Regions from separate parts of the Homo sapiens genome. Here region 2 is linked to region 1. Evidence: promoter capture Hi-C in 16 types of primary human blood cells and fetal thymus (Javierre and others, 2016). All regions are on one chromosome and are shown on one strand. Each heading gives the region's core, a stretch centred on a gene start or on the middle of the fragment in contact. The rest is flanking DNA. Distances are from core to core; before and after follow the strand shown.

Region 1 (3,614 bases), core at 927-3,426:
TACATACTATGTATATCGCGTAGTATGTATACTACATACTATGTATATCGCGTAGTATGTATACTACATACTATGTATATCGCGTAGTATGTATACTACATACTATGTATATCGCGTAGTATGTATACTACATACTATGTATATCGCGTAGTATGTATACTACATACTATGTATATCGTGTAGTATGTATACTCTATATTATATACATACTATACATAATAGTATATATACTATATTATGTATAGTTCCGCAGAATCCTGCAGAACTGAGGGAAACTGAGTAAAGGATAAATGGGATCTCTCTATATTATTTCTTACAACTACATATGGATTTATAATTATCTCATAATAAAAAGTCTAAGTATTTTTTTAAAAAAAGAAAAGAAAGTACACAGGACAGTAGCAATGAAAATCAATGAACTACTGCTACATAATGGTGAGCAAAAGAAGCCAGGCATAAAAAAAAAGTATATGCTGTATTATTCCATTTATGTTAAGTTCAAACATGGGCAATATTAAATGAATTGTATCAGAAGCAAACATAGAGGTTACCATTGGGGAAGAAAGTGAGGAAGCAAAGAAAGGGCGAAAGGGGGACTTCTGGGGTACTGGTAACATTTCATTTTTTGACTTTGGTGGTGGTTACATTGGTGTGTAATAAATCATTTAACTGTAAATGTATGGTTTATGCACTTTTCTGTATGTATACTACACACTAATCTTTTAAAGTTTTTAAAAGAAAAGAGTGCATAAGACCAACAGGTATAGGGGCGGGGGTAGGTACAGAGCAGCCAAAATGAAGGTGAAAAGGCACTGGGTTGGGAGCTGAGAGCCCTAGATTGCCAGTCCCAGCTCTGTTACTTCATTTATTAATTCATTTAACAGCTATTTACTGAGCACGTGCTGTGTGCCAGGTATTATTGTTCTACTTATTGGGCATTAACACTTGTGAACAAAAGAGTAGATCCCCTTAGGAGTGGAGAATGCTAATGAACACTGAGAAGGCAATTAAAAAATAAATAAGTAAAACAAAACAGAGACTATTACATGGACCGATGATGATGATGTGCCATAAATTGAGGAGAGTAACTCAACCCTCTTCACCTGGTGTTTAAAAAAAAAAAAAAAGAGAGAGGAAGAAAGGAAAGGTCCCTGATGGATCTTACATTCTTATGAGACAGACGGACAACGGGCAAATAGCTAGCGACAAGTTCTACGAAGGAAAATAAAGCTGCCCTTTCTCCTACAGGGCAAATCATAAGTTAAATAATTCCGGCCAGGCGCGGTGGCTCACGCCTGTAATCCCAACACTTTGGAAGGCGGAGGCGAGTGGATCACGCGGTCAGGAGTTCAAGACCAGCCTGGCCAAGATGTTGAAACCCCGTCTCTACTAAAAATACATAAATTTGCCAGGCTTGGTGGCGGGCGCCTGTAATCCCAGCTACTCGGAAGGCTGAGGCATAGAATTGCTTGAACTCGGGGGGCGGAGGTTGCAGTGAGCCGAGATTGCGCCACTGCTCTCCAGCCTGGACAACAGAGCTAGACTCCGTCTCAAATAATAATAATACTTCATTTGAGCTTTACAAAGCCCTATGAAGTAGGTCCCTTTCAACCTCACAACTTTTCAAATGATTATCAGGAGTATGTCCTGCCCCTTTCGCAGGTCAAAGAGAGTAGGGAAAATCTGGACCTCAAGGGAACATTGAACGCACAGGTCATTCGGAGGGCTGGGCAGACGCAGTAGGAGATAATTTCTTAATTGTGCAATGCAGGAGGGGCTACGGGATGAAATGGGGAACTGACAACGTGGGTCTAGCAATTACCACTTCAATGCACCAATACCGAAAACCAATCCCAAAGACTAATAGCAGGAGGTTGTACTGCGCCTTCATGCCCATTATTTTATTTTTTTTTATCTTACGTTCCTGTCAAAACGATATTTTGTTCTTACTTTTTAAAAGCTCAGAAAGACGCAACGATTTGCCTGGGATCACACAGAGAACAAGCAGCAGAGTTGTGGCTCCAAACCAGGGTCAATTTGTTCCCAATTCCTGCTCCGTCTAAAGTCTCGGAGACAAAGGGCCACCTCACGCTGTCCCCACCCCTTCGACTTACCTTGAGCAGGCTCTGGAGTGCTGCAAAATGCTCCGCTGTCAGGGCAGCCATCTTGCCGAAGTCACATGACCGTGGCACCCAGGGAAGCGAGGTCACGTGGCTGTCGCTGTTGTCGCGGGGCCTGCCGGGGGCTGTAGTCCTTCAGAGTGGGGGAAGGCGTTTCGGTTGTGGTGCTGCGGCAGTGAGCGCGGATCAAGACGGACGCGGCGGCTGGATGACTAAACCCCGAGACTCTAGAACCAAAGGACTAGGGGGACCAGGGCGGAGGATGGTTTACTCGGGGAGGAAATTGGCTTGACTTGTCTACTTACCAAGTCAGGGAAACAGGTTTTCCCTTGACCCATGTGGGTGGGCTGGCGCACTTGGGGAATGCACCTGCAAGCTTGGCAGGCGCCTTGGAAACGTAGTTGTTCAGGAGTGATCGGCGTACCAGTGTTTGGAATGAAAATGAGGCTGTGCATATCGGGCTTCTTGGAATTGACACACACACATGCACACATCCTGTCTTGAATGTAAAATTACTTCTGCGTATATAGTTTTTCAGCCTATGTAGTAGGTTGGAGCTGGTATTATTAGTATTATCCAGATTGGGAAATAATCATTTAGGGTTTTTAGTAACTTTCCCATAGTCATAGAGAAGATCTGATTACAAGAGCAGGTGAGGAAGTGTTTGGGAGAGGGGACAAGAGAGGAATGGAATGAAAGCTACTACCTAGCTAGGTTCTTGTTATACGGGGGTGAGATGGGGGAGGAGGTTAATGGAAATGATTTAGTTCATTTATTCAAAAAGGTAATTATAATGAATATAATTGTAAAGAGTGATTTTGCACTGGCAGTACTGGACTCTGATTTGCCCTGTTCTCAGAGACCGTACATCAAAACAGACATTTCCTTTATCTACCTTTAGTATTTGGGTGGCTCTTTTCTTTTCCTACCCTCCACTTTTTTTTAAGCAAATTCCAGCTCAAAAAATGGGTTCTGATATATTCGAGCTTAAGAAAGAATGCCCATTTGTGAAATTCCAGAAATTGGTAAGCTGCTAAGGACATTTGTTCCTTTGTCTCCTCTCCTCCCCCTTCCCCTTCCCCGACTCCATTTTCTGTGGGGATGTTGTCAAGGCCCAGGAAACCAAAAATCAAATTGTCTAAGGAGGAACCCATTCCTGGATTAGAAGATTTTAGAACCATTTTGTCACAGGGTCCTGATTCTAGCTCTCTTTCTTGGCCTCTCTTTTCCATGAACCCTCATGGCCTGATTCCTGGTTTCTGTTATAACTCAATGTAGGTTCTAGGTTTAACTCCTGCCTGTATCTATAGGGCTGGGCCCATTGTCTTGGGTTAATTGAATATTTGTTAAATAAACAACCACCCAAAAAAGTGATTAGACTAAGATGAAATTTTGTGACTTATTTGAGGATATTGCCTTGGTATTTGCAGGATTGTGCCTTCTTGTCTTACTTTAGAGTAATGAGGAGTGTGGTCACCAGCCTTCAAGATGGCC
Region 2 (3,693 bases), core at 851-3,350, 1.4 Mb before region 1:
GTTATCAGAAATAAAAGAAATAAAAAGCCCTTATAGTAATATCACTAGCTAGAATGACTACTATTGTCATTTTGGAGTATTTCATTTCAATCTTTGTATGTGTACAAGCTGGGCAGGTAGTAATTGGATGATGCCATATACAGGTTTGAGCATCTCTAATCTGAAAATCTGACATCCAAAGCTTTTTGAGCACTGACATGATGCTCAGAGGTGATGCTCAAAGGAATGTTCATTGTAGCATTTGGGATTTTGGACTTTGAGATTAGGGATGCTCAACCAGTAAGAATAATGAATGCAAATATTCCAAAATCTGAAAAAATCTGAAATTAAGAACTCTTATAGTCCCAAACATTTCTGATAAGGCATACTCAACCTATATATTGCTTATGGGTTATCTTTTTTATGTTTGTTAGCATGCCAAGACCTGTAAATGCTGTTTTCACACAAACTGTTGTGCATTCATTTTCTGTTGTGGTCCATTGACATTTTCAGTCTATTTTTACTCCAGTACCACACCAAAATAACTATTTGAACAAAGAAGACTTATATGACAAACGATCCTTTAAAACAAAAAATACTATAACTGCCTTTATTCCAAGTGTTAATATTACTCTGTGCCTAGTGCTGATTTTTAAATTACTTTTACTTTATTCTGCCTTATTTCATCCAGCCTGCAGATGGCAGAATTGTTTCATTTGAACAGCAATTTTGAAGGCTCCGTTTTATTTAGTGTGTTCTGACATTGGAATGAGAAGTGATTAAATGAACAGTCTCTCTCCCTATTAGAGAAGAAGCAAATTAATGTTAGAGACAGGGAGCCACACTAAGAAAGTACTGGATAATTTACTTTTTCATTTGGTCTATCTTCATTTCATGATTTTTGCATGCTTGGATTATAAATGAACTAGAGCCTATAAATGAACTAGAGCATGATGTTTAAGCTGTACCATATGTAAACTGCTGAATTCCCTTAATTACTTTAGTCAGAGTAATGGAGCTTAAATCTGCTTCATATTAACCATAAAGCAGTTTGTTCTGCATTTGTATTTTAAGAGTTTGCTTGTATTAAATTTTTTTTTTAATCTAGAGACCTTTTAGCATTCATGAATCAATCATCAATTTAAAGCTTTGATATAATTGAGTTTGCTGAAGTATGAGCATTTTGTTCTTAGGATAAAAGAAATACTTTAGGGAAGAAGAAACTAGAATTAGATTAGTGTACCATATTTGAAATTGAAGTCAGAATTATGCTGTAGAAAAATTGGAAGAGCCCATTTGAGGAAATACAGGAATTGCTTAGAGGGATTACTGTAAAATTCAGTGATTGGTAAATTGCTCATGTAGCAGAAATGGCAGGGAAAACAGCAATAAGCTAAGCAAAAAATTTTAATGTATTGTGTCATTCTGTTGATGTAAAAAAAGAGTAAAATAGTTATGAGTCATGAGACTTTACTTTTAAAATCAGCAAGTTTAAATATAAAGTACTGGACCACATACATTACAATAGTCATTTAAAAATTTTTAAAAATGTTTTGTAACTGCTGTGGAAGGGTAGACTTCACAAGCCAATTAGATATAATTTGCTAGCTTTATAAGAAGGAGCAGAACACTGAAGTGACTACAAAACGTTAAATTTTAACTAAATTTTGAGAACTTTGTGAATACTAATTGAAAAACTTGTGTAATGAGTGCAGCAAACTACTTACCTGTAGTTGTGGGAAACTAATACTAGGAAACGTAATTGGTGCATATCTTAAGGCCTTCTTAATTTGACAAGAGAATGGTAGAATGTACAGCTTACTGGAATAAGGAGGGAGTCTGCATATAAGTTCAAATGCAAATTAATTAATATTAGGTAAAGGATAAAATTCCATTCCAAGGAGTCTAGAAAAGTCTACACTATCTTAGTAGAGTTGACAGCAGCCATAAAGGGCAGATATTAATTATGTGCAGGCCTGTCACTTCAAGTTTATCTTACGATTGTGTAATTACTTTCCCATCAGAAAAATACGTCTGGAAAAGATACCATATAGTGTTCTAATCAAAAGAGGGTATGCTAGAATGAAATATGTACTTTTATTAACACATTAATGCTTATGAAATGATTTTTCTAGCATGAAAGCCTGAGGATAGATTAGTTAGAATAACTACAAAATATATTGCACATTTAACTCTCCGTAATAAGCGAGTGTAATCTATCAAGAGATAGTATTGAATAATGGAGATGTCCAAAATATCTTTCTTTGGTTTTTGTCACCTTCATTTCAGAGTAAAGATAATGATCTACTACAGAATTTTTGTATTATCATAATTCAGATAAGCAATTTCAATTCATTTCATGAAGGGTGACTAAGGAACGATTATGTTCTTTTTATTTTTAAAATATGAAAATTTTTGAGGTTCTTGATGTGGTAACTTGAAAGATAATAATAAATGCAGAGGTTTCATAATATAGTCCTTAATGTCAAGAGTAATGGAAATGTGAAGGTCTCTTAGGTGAGAGATTATAGCAGGAGATAGAATCATAAAATAAATGTGAATTGTGTCGTGACAACTGGAACCAAAGCATACAAATATTGGAGAGAGACTTTAAGAGAATTAAGTTAGTATTTGTCGTAAATTGGAATCTGGCTATAGAAGCATTGAGGTCCATTTAGTTGCTTCTTTGAAATGGAACTCTTTGATATATAAATGTAATATGTATATATTTATGAAATATTCTGTTCATAATGCCTGGCTTGAACTTTTTGATAGAAAGAACACATTGGGACTTTTTTTTTTTTAAGCCTTTGTTTTCGAAAAGAGGCTGGCCTCTTACCGTGGTGCTATTTAAAAGATAAGAGTTTTTTTTTGCCCACCCCCCTCCTTTTTTTTTTTTTTCCCCAGAACAAGTGAGTTTGTTATTCTGAGCTTAACAAAATAAATGCTGAGGCTCAGGCTGACAGTACATTCTTTAAGCAACTGTTTTTGATTTTTTCATCAAGCCATGTAAAAAAGAAAAAGGCAGTAGACACACCACATAGTGTAGAGGATTAGAAAGCTCATTCTGTTATCTCCAAATGCATTCAGTGTGTTAAGCTTTATGCACGTTTTAAGAATTCTTGCAATTAAGTGTAGGATTGTTATGGTTTGGATTTGGAGATGCATCACTAATGTTATAAGTTTTCCTGTGTGTAAGAGAGTATGTGTGTATGTGTGTTTTCCAAGTGCACTTCCCTAATTTTAGTTCACTCAAGAATTTAGTTCTCCAGCATTTTATAGACAAAACATTATGGTTGTATTTAGTAGTTTGCATTATTTTTTACCTATTTAATATTTTAATCACAAGGACTTATTTTACTAAGTAAAAAATGCAAAGATTTTGAAAGCTATCTTCTAGTTATAATTTAGCATTTCAACTAGAGGTAGCTTGGGAATTCAGTGAAACTGTTTCAGCTACAGTTATTGAGAGTCATGGTGGACTGGAGTTGGATGGCTTTGTTCTTCAGTGTCTTCCAAAATAACGGTGTTTCGTAATTAGGAGTTAGGAAACTCATTGTGGCTATTTTTCCTCCTGTTTTTCATATATAATGCACTTAGAGATAACCTGTTCTCTTATGCATTTGAAATATTCATTGTCAGTAGTAAAAGTGGTATTTTTGTTTTGTTTTTCTCAGGCAGAGTCTTGGTCTGTTGCCCATGCTGGAGTGCAGT

The links. Contacts are between HindIII fragments. The CHiCAGO score rates a contact against its expected background, and 5 or more counts as called.
Region 2: a fragment that was not itself captured here is called in contact with the fragment with the promoter of COMMD9 in region 1 in 1 of 17 cell types (naive B cells); the score reaches 6.7 in naive B cells.

What each region holds. Positions count from the first base shown.
Region 1 is chr11:36,287,248-36,290,861 of GRCh38, forward strand. COMMD9 (COMM domain containing 9) reads right to left here and starts at 2,177. Exons shown (of 6, transcript NM_014186.4): 1 at 2,115-2,177. The coding sequence starts at 2,165. RefSeq lists enhancers at 1,539-2,241, 2,078-2,327. The HindIII fragment of the contact is 8,947 bases long and covers 1-2,494 here.
Region 2 is chr11:34,925,601-34,929,293 of GRCh38, forward strand. All of the region lies in intron 1 of PDHX (pyruvate dehydrogenase complex component X), which reads left to right. Among named protein-coding and RNA genes, the nearest start is that of PDHX, 11 kb to the left of the region's middle. The HindIII fragment of the contact is 1,952 bases long and covers 1,125-3,076 here.